Regions from separate parts of the Homo sapiens genome. Here all the other regions are linked to region 2. The links are contacts of gene promoters, found by promoter capture Hi-C in blood cells and fetal thymus (Javierre and others, 2016). All regions are on one chromosome and are shown on one strand. The core of a region is centred on a gene start or on the middle of the fragment in contact, and the rest is flanking DNA. Distances in the headings are between cores, read along the strand shown. Region 1 has its middle 12 kb from the start of LINC02106. Region 2 holds the start of ITGA1 (integrin subunit alpha 1). Region 3 has its middle 5.1 kb from the start of ARL15.

Region 1 (4,695 bases), core at 2,011-4,510, 1.8 Mb after region 2:
CGCCACTGTGCTCCAGCCTGGGCAAAAAAGCTGAACTCCACCAAAAAAAAAAAAGAGAAAGAAAGAAAGAAAGAATGAAAGAAAGAAAGAGGAAGGAAGGAAGGAAATATGAAATTGGAATTCAAATAAGGTTAGACCTTATTTGTGATTAGAATGGAGAACTGTGCCCATCGCCATGTTTACATCATCTGCTATGTGCTATTGTTTAGCATCGGTCCTTGGTCAGACTGAGCTAATCTTCCTAGGCATTTTGTCTCCATCTAAAGATAGAACTTTACGATTAGGAATTTCTGACACTTGCAGATGTTAGTGAGGATGTTTTGGAGACATTTCTCAAAATGTGTCAATGCCTTTGGGAATGTTCTTGAAGAGAGAAAGAAAATAAAATGTATTAAGAAGCAATTTATATGGGGCAAGCATTTCGATACAGTGTCCTACTTAATCCTCACATGGCTTGGTGCTAGGAGTAGTCATCCACGCCCACTTTGCAGTCAGGAAACTGGGAGTCAGGAATTTCATAACTTAAACCACAGCAAAGATTGTTATCCTAGGGCTGAAATGGCATTTGGAGACCAGTGGTTATAATTCCAGAATCTAAAGTTATTCTGCCATGTGTGTTTCTTTCTATCAGTTAGTTATTTTGACTACGTTGGAGGAATATTCAACTCCATCTAATTACTCACTGATCTAGGTGGGCATCAAGTAAAACAGATAATATCACAGCCAAGATGTACAGAAGTAAGTTGCAGTCTTTTTCAAAACCTGATTTACTAAGATCATTGCTTTGGTTTTCTCAGAAACCTAGAAGCTGGTCTTAATGTTGAATTATCTCTGTTATCTGCATATAGGTAGATTCCCCTGGATTATAATTACTCACAGGTAGTCACATTTCCCCTTTTCCAAGAAACTTACCCCTCCAACAAATTAAGACACATCCTTTTCCTTATAGTATTTTCATCCTTCTTATTTTGGGTATTTTTTATCAAAAGATCCAGATGCTCTGTCCTGTCTCATTTGTCCCATGCTATTGTCTCATTCTCAAAGAGCCATTCATGATGAATGAGCCTTTAATGTTTTCTTTACATATATCCTTCTTTCTTTGAAGGATGTTAATATTCTTCCATTAATATTTCTTCTGAGCCAAGAGACAGATAACGTCCAACTGGCATATTTCCATACTGGACTGAATGATAATTTTATAATAAATATTGCATGTCATTTCTTATTATAAAAATCTCTTTTCAGCATGCATGTCCATTTTGTAAGAGGATTAGCTGGGCTTTGCTGTGGGATACTTGAACTTTTGGTAAGCTTTTTCAATCCTTTCATTTAGTGGAAAGGTGATTAAAATGACAGAAAAGCATTTAAACTTAGTTATCATGATCAACCTTCCCAATAGCTTTCTTTTTCTATCACGTGCTTTAGCCAGAGGTAAGAGAGCAATCATCTTTGAGGGCCTTCTCTACCTGCATCCTACGAAAATGAGTTTTCTAGAATTTTCTCAGATATTCCAGTGGAAGTGTTTCTTATAGTATCCTTTGCTGCCACCTGCTGTTCAGCCTACATTTATGAAAGCTGTCAATGCTATCCATTGTTGATGGTGTATTTTCTAACGTAAGGGGTGGGTAAAGATAACAAAACTGATGCATTGCCAGATCCTGTCAAGTGATCACACTTAAACATGACCTTCGAACCAGTAGCTGCATTTAATGTTTGTAGAAATTTACTTCCTTTGTCACACTCTTAGTGTGACATAGTAGCATAATAACCTAAGAAATCCTATTTCTTTCTCCTTTCAAGAACAGCAGGCTGGTCGTTGAGGAAATCAGTCTTTAAGTTGTTGAGGCCAGAATTGTAAGCTGGAGCCACCATGTGTAACTGCAGTCCACTAATGAATTAATAGCATTTATTTGTACTCCATGCTTCCAGCTGCCCAACCTCCGCTTTGCTATCTTGGTTGCTTGTATCTTGGTTGCTTGTATCTTGGTTGCTTGGTTGCTCTCATCTTTCTGCCACACTCACTGTCAGGAGAGTTGGGCTGCAGTAAATGTTGCTTCCTTGCTGTTTCTTTACTCCCTTTGTGCTCCTTTATTACTGAGCAGGCTCAGTTCTCTAGCTTTGGAGTTATAAACTGGGTTCACAATACAGACTAAATACATGCTGTTCCTCAATCCTTTATGTGAATGCTAGGTGTTTAAGTGCATAAAATGTTACCTTTTTCTTATAAGTGTGCCCATCTCAGTAATTCATTTAGCAGGGAGGTCTCTCCCTAACATTGCTGGAGCATCTGCTAACATTGTAGTTCATTTTCTAGAGACAACACCTTAATGGCAGAAGTTGCATAGGCTAAATGACTTTTGTTTGTGACACTTTACAATTGTAACTAGAAAGAAATTCAACACAGCACTGGGTAAAAAAAATGCAGAGAATGATCTCTTGCTTTCTTCTTAAGCTCACCATCTTTCTCCATCAAACTCAGCAGCAGCAGCGGGAAGGTTACAGTTACTTTTGAGAACACTGCGGCTGATGCTTCTTGTACAAATATTCGCTTTCTTCATGACAGAACTCCTTTTCCAAATTTACATTCAGGCCAAGATAAGTCATCCAGCTCAACCATGCATTTCAAAACCACCTGGTATCCTCAAATGTTCTTGTGACCAGGCTTCTAAAATCCTGTAGGGCAAAAATCTAACAAAGAGAAGTCATCCGCAAAGGTCACTGCTTCCAAGTTCATCTTTGGCAGGATGTAGCTCTGTGCTGATATTAAAAAAAAAAATGTATCTAAAGTACAAGATATAGTTCTCTTTTGTGCAACATTCCCAAATCTGATTTGGCTTTCAAATTTATTGCAACCTTTAAAGGGGTGATTTTGGCAATGTTCTGGGGGTGGGGTTGATAACAGTCAAAAAGCTGTGGAAATGATTTAATGGTTCATGGCTTTGAAGTGCCTATGAAAGACATTTAACTAACTTTATATTTCTCCCTACATTTTCCCCAAAACGTGTATGTGTGGAAATTTTCCAAATTGCTTTTCCTTAAAGCACAGAGGACATCATTTTAGTGCTGGAGGGCAGAAATTTATTACTTTACAAGCTCCTTGCTTGCACATGTTTTTCTTCAGAGCTCACTGAAGTTACTTTTCCATCTTTTGCTAACAAACTGAAAAACTTCTTCTAATTTCTTCTTTGATATGTTATGAAGACAGCCCCCCACCCTTCCTCTATAAATCTTCCAGGTACTTTTAGTGCAGCAGCAGGATATATGAATCTAACTCAGGGAATTAGGAAGGGAGGGAGGGAGGAAGAATTAACATGTTAATCACTTATCTGATGCTAAGCACTAAGTGAGATCCTTCATGTCATATATATTTGCTCATTAAAATCATGAATTAATTTGATAAATACTTATTAAGATTGTACTAAGGTGGCTCAAAACTGTAAACCCAGCACTTTGGGAGGCTGAGGCAGGAGCAATCGCTTGAGCCCAGGAGTTTGAGACCAGCTTGGGCAACACAGGGAGATCTTATGTTTACAAAAAACTTAAAAATTAGCGAGGTGTGATGTTGTTTGCTTTTGGTCCCAGCTACTAGAGAGGCTGAGGTGAGAGGATTGTTTGAGCCTGGGAGGTTGAGGCTGCAGTGAGCTATGGTTGCGCCATTGTATTCCAGCCTGGGCAACAGAGCAAGACCCTTTCTCAGACCAAAAGGAAAAAATAAATAAATATATATATATATACACACACGCACACACACACACACTAAGAGCTGGGCATTCTTGGGACTGAGTACTAACCATAAACTAATTTACTGTCCAGTAGGAGAAACATACAAGTAAAAAGTCAAGGTTGATGCAATATCAAATGCTTTTGAGAGGCAGTTACAACACAGTGCTTGGAAATATGGACTTTGAAGACAGCCTATTTGGGTTGAATACAAATTCTGCTACTTGCTAGCCCTGTAATCTTGTGCAAGTTACTTCACCCTTGGACCTTTGTTGTCTCATCTGTGAATTAGGAATAAGAAGAGCATTTACTTCAATATGTTGTTGTGCAGATAAAATGAATTAATACACTGGGAGTGCTTATAAAGGTGCCTGGTATTTAGATTATATACGTAGCTACTTCTCAATATCCAGATTTCAGCTCAAATGTCATGTCCTTGACTGGAATTTTCCCATCGGCCTTTTTAATATATTTATTTTGAGACTCATCGACCTTTTAAAACCAGGCTCTCCTCAAGAGTCACTCTCATTCCTACCACGTTCTTTAATTCCTTATGGGCCTATCACTCTGTGGAATTACATTCATCTTATTTGCTTGCTTATTAATTGTCTCTTTTGCCTACTAGAGAGTTCAAAACACAAGGGTGGAGACCTCTCCAATTTTATTCGTTGCTTTGTTTCCAGACCCTAGGACAGTGCCTGGAACACACTCATTTTTCTACTAGAATTCATGAAATGAATTGCTGGATGTTAAGAGTTATGACAGGGGTAAGCACAGAGCTCTATTTGGAAGTACATAGGAGAGAGAGTTGACCCAGTCTTTGATGGCATGTCATATGGTTTCCAGGAGGAAGTGACATCCTTCAGCACCGGCAGACTGTTCATCATTAGGGGCAGAGGTAAAAAGACAGGAATTCCAGGAAGCAAGAGGGAGGGAAAATATGCATTTAATCCTCATAATGGCAGTTTAAGATGG
Region 2 (4,370 bases), core at 68-2,567:
ACTTTCCCCCACCCCAATCAGTAACTGGTAAAAAAGATCTGACCATGAGTTCATTATTGGGAAAATCTTACAAAATGCTATATTTCAAGCTTTTTCTAAATTGGATACAACTTTGCATTTCCACTATGTTTTTAAGTCCCCTCCTTAAAAATACACATTTATGTACAAATAACAATACTATATTTTGCATCTTAAAAGTAGACTGCCCTGTGATATTTACAGAGAAAATGTTCACCATTCCTTTCTACGTTTCAAAATATCCCTCCTCTTGGGTGCTGACATAGAAACATCATTTTGGAACAAGTGGCAGTTTCGTCTTGCATCCCTGCCTTTTCTTGTTCTGCATGGGAAAAAAGCCTAAATAGTAGACAGCAAGAAAATTCAATAATGTCCACTCTGGAACAACCCGAGGGTAGGAATTTTGCATATGTATCAGGCGCCCTATAAGCATCACCCTCCCATCCCATGCCATAAAAAAGGGTGGAGGGGAGGAAATATTCAGCAAAGTCCTAATATACAATGTGTATTGTAAAAACAACTTTAATTTTAAAAGTGAATTCTACCTTCTAAGGTTTTCAGTGCTGCCTCACTCCTACTCCTAGGGTGAAGGACTTTGGAGAGACACGAAAACTAATTCATATCAAAACCAGAACGCGAAACTCCTGCCTGCCCCGTAGCCTGGCCTGAGTACCTGGAATGCCCGAAAGTGGATGGGCGCTCTCTCTTCCTATCTGGCCCATGGCTCTGAGGACCTCCCTCCCCGCTCCAAGCCCCAAGCCCGCGAGCAGGAGATGCTCAGAGAAAAGCGAGTCGCTCACCAGTGAGGAGCCAGCAGCAGGCGACAGCGACCCCTGGGCGGGCGCGGGGCCGAGGGGCCATGGCCGGAGCAGCCTCAGCGCCAGGGGGCCGCGCTGGTTCGCAGGGCAGGACCGGGCGCGGGAGCTGCGCTCTCTGGCTGGGCCACTTATCCCGCTGCCGCGGTTCCCAGTCCTCTGCCCCAGTGGCAGCGGCGCCCAGGAGCGGGAGAGGAGTGATTTCCTGTGTTTTCGTCGAATTCCTCTAAATGCGCTCCACGCTTTTCACATCCCAGACGGATTGCCACATCGCCCGCCCCTTCGCGCTCTTGGTCTCTGAAATCTCACTGGCAGCTTCCCAGGCTCTGTCCGAGACATGGACAAATAAAGCCAGCTTCGCGGGTCCGTGTTTAGGCTAAAGTCCACGGGCTGTAGAAGCAAACCTTAAAGGGACATCTGCCTTTCATTGAGAGGGTGATCTCGTTCTCCGGGCCAAATCCCCTAAGGTGGTAGGAAGGCGGGTAAGGGCTGGACCTTCGGGAGGGTGTTGCCAGCCCAGTGGCTCCGCCTTCACACCCCTTACTTCTCCCGGCCCGGGCAGGGAGGGCGCTTTGACAGTGCCTGGGCGCCCTTAACGGGAGGCAGCTTTCCCGGGTCCATTGCGCAGAGGGATTAGGCCGTCTGTGAAAATGCGAGGATCTGGAATCCCCCCTTCCATCCCCTGCGGACACTTGAAATTCACCGTGAAGTCGTTTTGCACGAAAGGGGGCGTCCCCACCACCCCGACAGGCTCCACTGAGGGCTTTGCTTTCGCTTATGGGGGGGTGGGGGGGTTGCTTCGTTTATGGTAATTCGTGGTTAAAGGGTGGTTGCAGATAAGCTTTTCTTTGAGATAACTAGGATAAGGGGAGAAAAGGAGAAGCAAGACGGAGGAAAAACAGTAAGAGGGAGAGCGAGAAGGGAAGAGAGGAAGAAAAGCAGCCTCCTTGGAAATGGAATGTGTGTGGGCTATTTTGTTTAAGTGAATTAGGATGTTTGTACGCTGGTAATTGAATCTAATAAAGAACTCGGGGCACTACTTTATTTTTTTCTTGCTTGAAACTTTCACGAGTGAAAATGCATTAAGAGTCCAGAAGTGCTTAGGAACTTGCAATGCTTCCCTTTCCTGGTGAGTTGAACAACCTCTCTGAGTCAAAAGCCATATTCACCCTAGCTTCAACCAATGCTGGCTATTTTCAAAATAGCTGTGTCTTAGCGGTTTTGAGAATTTCAAAGACAGAAAGAATAAGTGGATTTGTGTTTAGAGGAATCTGAGGGAAACAGTTCAATTCAATTCTTCAACTCAACAACTAATTGAGCATCTCTAGCAGAACTAGGGCTAGGCAGGACAAGAGTGCCACCCAAAGGAGGGTTCGTTGAGCAGAACGCAACACAGGTAGCACAGAACAGGTAACACGAGGGACAGGAAGGAAGAAGCCCACAGGGTTCACTGGATACATTGCCAGATAGAGGATCACAGCAACTAAAAGCTGGAGAAGACAAAAGTTGAAGAAGTTTAAGGAGCGTCAAAAATGGGGTGGGCAGACCCAAGGAGGTTGAAGGCCATCAGATCTCAGTATGTTGACCCATTAATCAAGAAATTCCTTTTCTATTATGTATCTGAACTGATTCACTATTTAGTAAATACATTAAAAATCTCGTTCTCCCGTTTTTAGTTTTTATAATGTCATTTCTCAGTTCTGTCTTCAAATTTACACAAATGAGTCTCTAGAAAAATTGTATTATGTTGGGTCACAGTTCAATCCCATTGGACTTTACTTAAGTTCCTTTGTTTGTGTTCAATGCTCTCATACCCTGCCAAGGAATTCATTTCCTGTGTATATCTCGTTTCCCTGTTGGTAGTATCAGTTATGTCTTATGCCTCTCAGTATGACTCTCTGTGCTTTGAACAGTAACCAATAGATATTGATTAATTCGTAGACATTTAAAAATCATAGTAAGTACTTTCCCAATGATATTTCTCCAAATTGCTTAGTTTTCAAAAACATATAATAGTGTGTCTATATATACACAATCATGTGTATGTATGTATGTGTACATATATATGTACAGCATATACATACATATGCAAATACATATATGGCATTTTAGCAAATTGCAATATATTTCATTAGAAAAAACAAAAAGAAATTGTAAAATATTGAAATAAAGTAGGGTTAACATATAATATGTTCAAGTTTACAATTACTGGGAAATTTACCTTTCTTCTGGGGGCTAATATATAATTTCAATTTTAATATTTTTATTTCCTCTAGGACTTACAAATTATTGGTGATAACCATCACTAACAGTGATATTGTTACAATTAATTTTCACAAGTTACAAATTTTATGTTTACATGTTTACATATTTATGAATCTTTTATATGTCTAGTCAATACAAATGTAGAGACTGAGAGATAACTATGGTTAGAGAATTAATTTTAGAATCAGTGCTTATTTTCTGAACTTCAATAAACCCAAATACAAATAAATGTCAAGCCGGTTATTTTCTTAACCAATTTTATTCTGACTGACAGAAAGACATGTCATTGAGTAAAGATTTAGAGAAGACAGAAACTTGCCCAGAGTCACAAACTAGTTATTGATATGAGACACTTGATGACAAATGTTTCAGCTCTAGACTTTATACTACATACTTTTCTATTTTAAATGAGACTTGATTTGATCAGATCTCTTTAAGGGTTTGGAAGCATGAGTAGGAGCATGAACCTTATTGTGAACTGCACACGCTTCTTATGAGAATCTAATGCCTGATGATCTGTCACTGTCTCCCATCATCCCCAGATGAAAACGTCTAGTTGCAGGAAAACAGGCTGAGGGCTCCCACTGATTCTACATTATGGTGAGTTTTATAATTACTTCATTATATATTATAACATAATTATAATGGGAATAAAGTGCACAATGAATGTAATGTGTTTGAATCATCTTGAAACCGTTTCCCCTACCCCTGGTCTGTGGAAAAAATGCCTTCTATGAAACCGGTCTCTCTGCCAAAACGGTTGGGGATGGCTGCACTGAAAGATTAGAGACTGAACTGATTAAGAATTTGGAAAGTGGATGTCTATGAAATGAGGCAAGAGTAATTGAGATTATTAACCAATAATCTCAAAAAGAAAAACATATACTTAAAACCAAAGTATTCTTCTTGGAGTTAATCTAATATACTGAGTAAAGTAACTAGAGTAAGTAAGGTTCTGGAGTTACGCTGCTTGGACTCAAGTCCTGGAACCACAATATAGTAGCTGTGTGATTTGGGAAACGTCATCAAGTTTATCTAAGCCTCAGTTTTCTCAAATGTAAAGTGGGAATGAAAATACTGTACTACTTCTGGTCTGAGAATTGCTGTGGGGATTAAATGAACCGAGCCTCTGAGCATTTAGCACAATGCCTGGATTAAAGTAAGTGCTCGGTTAGTATGAATCATTCTTCTCTGTAAATAGAAGAATTGGTATTAAACAGACCATGTAAACAGGGCAGGCTCTGCGTGTGGTAGACCCTGTAGGAAGTGGTG
Region 3 (4,207 bases), core at 1,494-3,993, 1.5 Mb before region 2:
TCAGCTTGTTTCTTGCTGGCTTCCCCCGCCTCTTGAACTTAGCCTTCAGCTTTCTCTGTTCCGCTACGTCAGTTGCCACTTCTGTATCCACTTTCTGTTTTCCTAAATGGTTGACCTCTTATATGCTGGAGTCTCTCCTTTAATTCTCTGTCTTGGTGGATCTTTTTTATTCCTTTACTGGCCTGTGGGGGTGAGGGTGGGGGAGATAAGCAAGTATATTTAATATGTCATGTTTAAGTGGAAGACCTCCATTCATATTTTTACTGCATACCTTCATTGTTCAATACAGTATCCACTACCTGCATTTCTAGTTCTCAATAGCCATGTGTAGCTAATGGCTACCATACTGGGCAGTACAAGTATAGGCCATTTCCATCATTACAGAAAGTTTTATTGGACTGTATCACTTAGCACAACCCAGAGATGCCATCCACGACTACCTGTCTAGAGTATGCTTCCCTGTTACTCGCCAGCACATCTCTTTAATTCTGTATAGCACTTATCACTAGTTGATATCTTTCCTGTCTCCAATCACTAGAGACTAAGCTTTATGTGAGCAGGGATAATATTTCTCTAGCATCCCTAATATATAGTAGGTGTTAAATAGGTATGTAGAATGCATGAATCCATATTAGCCTGCCCAGAGTACCTACATGCCTGTCTTTCTCAATTTAAACAGCATAGAGTCAGAATCTCAAGTCTGGATGAGATAGGAAGCATTATTATCTAGATGGTATATGATAGCCACTTTTTTCATTGGCTTTATTTTATAGTTTCTTGTTTCTGAGTTTCTCGTTTCCTTGCAAGCTGCCTTGAATCAATTGCCAGCTTGGATTAAGGCTTCCTTATATGTAAGCCTTGAAAGAAGAGATCAAAATTATAAATCACGGGCATTCAAGATGTTTCCAACTTTCAGTGGAATACCTACAAGAAAGCAATTTGAATAGTTTCTATATTATCCCAATAGGTGATGATCTCATAAGAAGCAGGCAAGAAAGCAAGTGCCCAAACACTTTTTTGGGATTTGCTTCCCTCTGTAGTTGGCACATCTTTATGCCAGTCTTAGGGACCAGAATGAGGGAGCAATTACACTGGATGGAGCTGCAAATCAACTTCCACCAACACCACATGGGGAGTTGGGAAGCAATAATCTGCAGAGAAGCTCCTAGCTGAACCCTGATTTGCACCAGTTAGACTTCCCCAAACTAAACTGTCTATACCTCCTATACCTTGGGCTCAAACACTCATCTTCTTTTAAGTATGTAATGCCTCATCCCCAATTTGTTGCTATTGATTCTTTATATGCTGTTTTCCCATCTGGAAAGTTCCCCTCACAAATCCTCCAAGATAAATTTTTTCTTTCTTGGAGAGTTCTATTAGAACTCCAGAAACTTTGGCAAACCCTCACTGAGTTCTCATCCCTTAAACACTTTAGTAACTCCTCTGGCACCAGGTTGACTGTGTGCACATTTGTATCGGGAAGGGCTTTGTCTATTCGCCTTTCTTTGTCCTGTTATTTCTAATAAGCGGAAGTTTCTCCGTGGTAGACTCTAGGCCTGCTTTATTTTCTTGTCACACTGATCCCAAGATCTTGTCACTTCCATAGTAGTATAGGGAAGAAATAGATATTCCAGGGTTATGGAAGGAAAGTCCTTAGCTCTGTTACTTAATGTGTGATCTTGGGAAGGGTATTTTATCTGTGATTTTTGCTGTGAGATTTCAGCATGGTGATCATGAGGCCTAATGGATTTGTTGATTTTTCTCCTTCACTTGGAGCTGACTGTGTCAGGAAGTACTAACAAGTATGCTCAGGCAGTGACATATTGACACAATGAGGCTGGCTGTAAATAGTGAGGTCTATGCTCTAAGCAACCAATCAATCTTTAGTGGTGCCAGGGCTACATGCAAGGTGTCAAGCCAGGCTGTTGAGGGAGATTCAGACACACGTGTGTGGCAGAAAAGGAGATTCACAATTCAAGAAAGGACTTGCTGCCCAATTGCAATGAGTGTGATTCACTAATGGCCTCCATCTATCTATTAACTCTTTTAGCTCTTCCAACACCTTTATTTTAGTTCCATAAGGCTCATAACTGGCTTGCAGAATAGGAAATTAATACAATCAGCAATGTAGAAATGTATCTAAGAGATTAAATGAACTTGCTGGGGTTGGTATTGAGAGGGATTTACACAGCTTCTTGATATTTGGTGCTTGAATGGTGGTTGCTTGTGAGATCTAGTTATCTTTCCCTCGTATATTTACCATTTTCAGTGGATGTCTTATCTTGCTTTAAAACCCCAAGACCCAGCAAAGCCCTTTTTGGAAAAGGTGAGTGACCCTTAATCATGGTAGGGATTAGTTGAACTCTATCCCCTGGCTGAGTAAACAGGAGCCTGGAAGGAACAGGTGACCTGTCCAAGCTCATCTAGTTAAGTAGTTACAAATCTTCATCTTGACTGCCAGGACTGATCTTTGAAAAATAGACATACAAGGCCTTAAGATCTACCTGCAGGAGAGAAAACAGGTTTAAACTGACATGGAGATATTTTAGATTAAAAACTTCAGACTTAGCTATTTCAGTGAGGGGTTCCTCTAGTTTGAGTTGCAAGTAGGTCACCATGCTAAGAGCAGAAAACCCTACTCTAATTCCAACCTCTGACCTCATTCAATAATCATTGGCTTGATTCCATTTATGAATCAAGCTCTGTTAGCGGCTTCATGTGGGGACACCCTGTTCTGATGAAGTTCATCTTCTGGGACACAGTGATACTTCATTTAGGTTTAGGAAGCAGAGAAGAGGACTGGGGTAAATCAGAGGTGGGTGTCAAGGTATCCACTGGAGAGAAAGGGAAAAAGGACTCAGAAGAGAATTTTAAAGTCACAGGAGTTATTGGATGTGGTAAGTGAGAAAAAGTGCCTGATGACCTCTGCAGAGCTGACCACTTTTTCTGAAAAAGAAGTGTCCATGATTTAAGAGTCATTATAATGAAAGATACCATCTTTCAGCTATTAAGGAATAATATTAAGGCAAAGATGAGACAAGATAATCATTCCCTACTTTGGAGCTGGGGGGTAGAAGGAAGAAGACTACATAAGCTAGGTCAAAACTGAGTATTAAAAGTGCTCAGCTGGGCGTGATAGCTCACGCCTGTAATCCCAGCACTTTGGGAGGCTGAGGCAGGCGGATCACGAGGTCAGGAGATCAAGACCATCCTGGCCAACATGGTGAAACCCCGTCTCTACTAAAAAAAGATACAAAATTAGCTGGGTGTGGTCACGTGTGCCTGTAGTCCCAGCTACTCAGGAGGCTGAGGGAGGAGAATCACTTGAACCCGGGAGGCGGAAGTTGCAGTGAGCCAAGATTGTGCCACTGCACTCCAGCCTGGCAACAGAGCGAGACTCCATCTCAAAAAAAAAAAAAAAAAAAGAAAAGAAGTGCTCATACTCTTTGTACCAGTAATTCTATTACTAGAAATTATTCTTAGGATAATAAGATGTGGATAGTTTTATAAGCAAACATTCACTGTAATATTTATAATAGTAGTAACTAATAAAGGATTTGTTAACACAGTAGTACATTTTTACAATAGTTTTATGTATCCATTAAAGATTTATGAAAAGTTTCAGTGAGATAGTGTATGCATGATACAAAACTAGTGAAGGCAGTATTCTCCTTGGAAACAACAAAAGAATAGCTGGAAATAACCACTAATATGTTGATTTTTCTGGAAAGTTGGGAGACCAAGTTGCAAAAATGCATTTCTGTTTTCATTCCTTGCAAGTGACAGTTTAACAAAAAATTTTCCTCCAAATTTGGCTAGCCAGCAGCCTTTATGGAATTTTAGAGTATGGACTGTCAAAATAATTTCTCTTTGCTTTTGACAAGCAACAGTGATGGCCTCTGTATTAGTCTGTTTTCACGCTGTTGATAAAGACATACCTGAACCTGGGCAATTTAGAAAAGAAAGAGGTTTAATGGACTTACAGTTCCACATGGCTGGGGATGCCTCATGATCATGGCAGAAGGTGAAGCAGGAGCAAAGACATGTCTTACATGGCGGCAGGCAAGAGAGAATGAGAGCTTGTGCAGGGAAATTCCTCCTAATAAAACCATCAGATCTCATGAGACTTACCACTATCATGAGGACAGCATGGGAAAGACTCGCCCCCTTGACTCAACTTCCTCCCACCGGGTCCCTCCCACAACAC

The links. Contacts are between HindIII fragments. The CHiCAGO score rates a contact against its expected background, and 5 or more counts as called.
Region 1: a contact is called between a fragment that was not itself captured here and the fragment with the promoter of ITGA1 in region 2, in 1 of 17 cell types (M0 macrophages). The highest score is 6.0, in M0 macrophages.
Region 3: a contact is called between a fragment that was not itself captured here and the fragment with the promoter of ITGA1 in region 2, in 2 of 17 cell types (total B cells and total CD8 T cells). The highest score is 5.5, in total B cells.

Annotation. Positions count from the first base shown.
Region 1 is chr5:50,955,911-50,960,605 of GRCh38, reverse strand. No RefSeq gene overlaps it. Among named protein-coding and RNA genes, the nearest start is that of LINC02106, 12 kb to the left of the region's middle. The HindIII fragment of the contact is 3,894 bases long and covers 1,314-4,695 here.
Region 2 is chr5:52,784,863-52,789,232 of GRCh38, reverse strand. It overlaps ITGA1 (integrin subunit alpha 1), which reads right to left and starts at 1,317. Exons shown (of 29, transcript NM_181501.2): 1 at 819-1,317. The coding sequence starts at 879. PELO (pelota mRNA surveillance and ribosome rescue factor) reads right to left here and starts at 1,317. Exons shown (of 3, transcript NM_015946.5): 1 at 819-1,317. It overlaps PELO-AS1 (PELO antisense RNA 1), which reads left to right. Exons shown (of 5, transcript NR_186455.1): 2 at 3,641-3,698. RefSeq lists an enhancer at 1,350-1,629. The HindIII fragment of the contact is 1,585 bases long and covers 92-1,676 here.
Region 3 is chr5:54,313,527-54,317,733 of GRCh38, reverse strand. No RefSeq gene overlaps it. Among named protein-coding and RNA genes, the nearest start is that of ARL15, 5.1 kb to the right of the region's middle. RefSeq lists a cis regulatory region at 4,053-4,207. The HindIII fragment of the contact is 4,389 bases long and covers 549-4,207 here.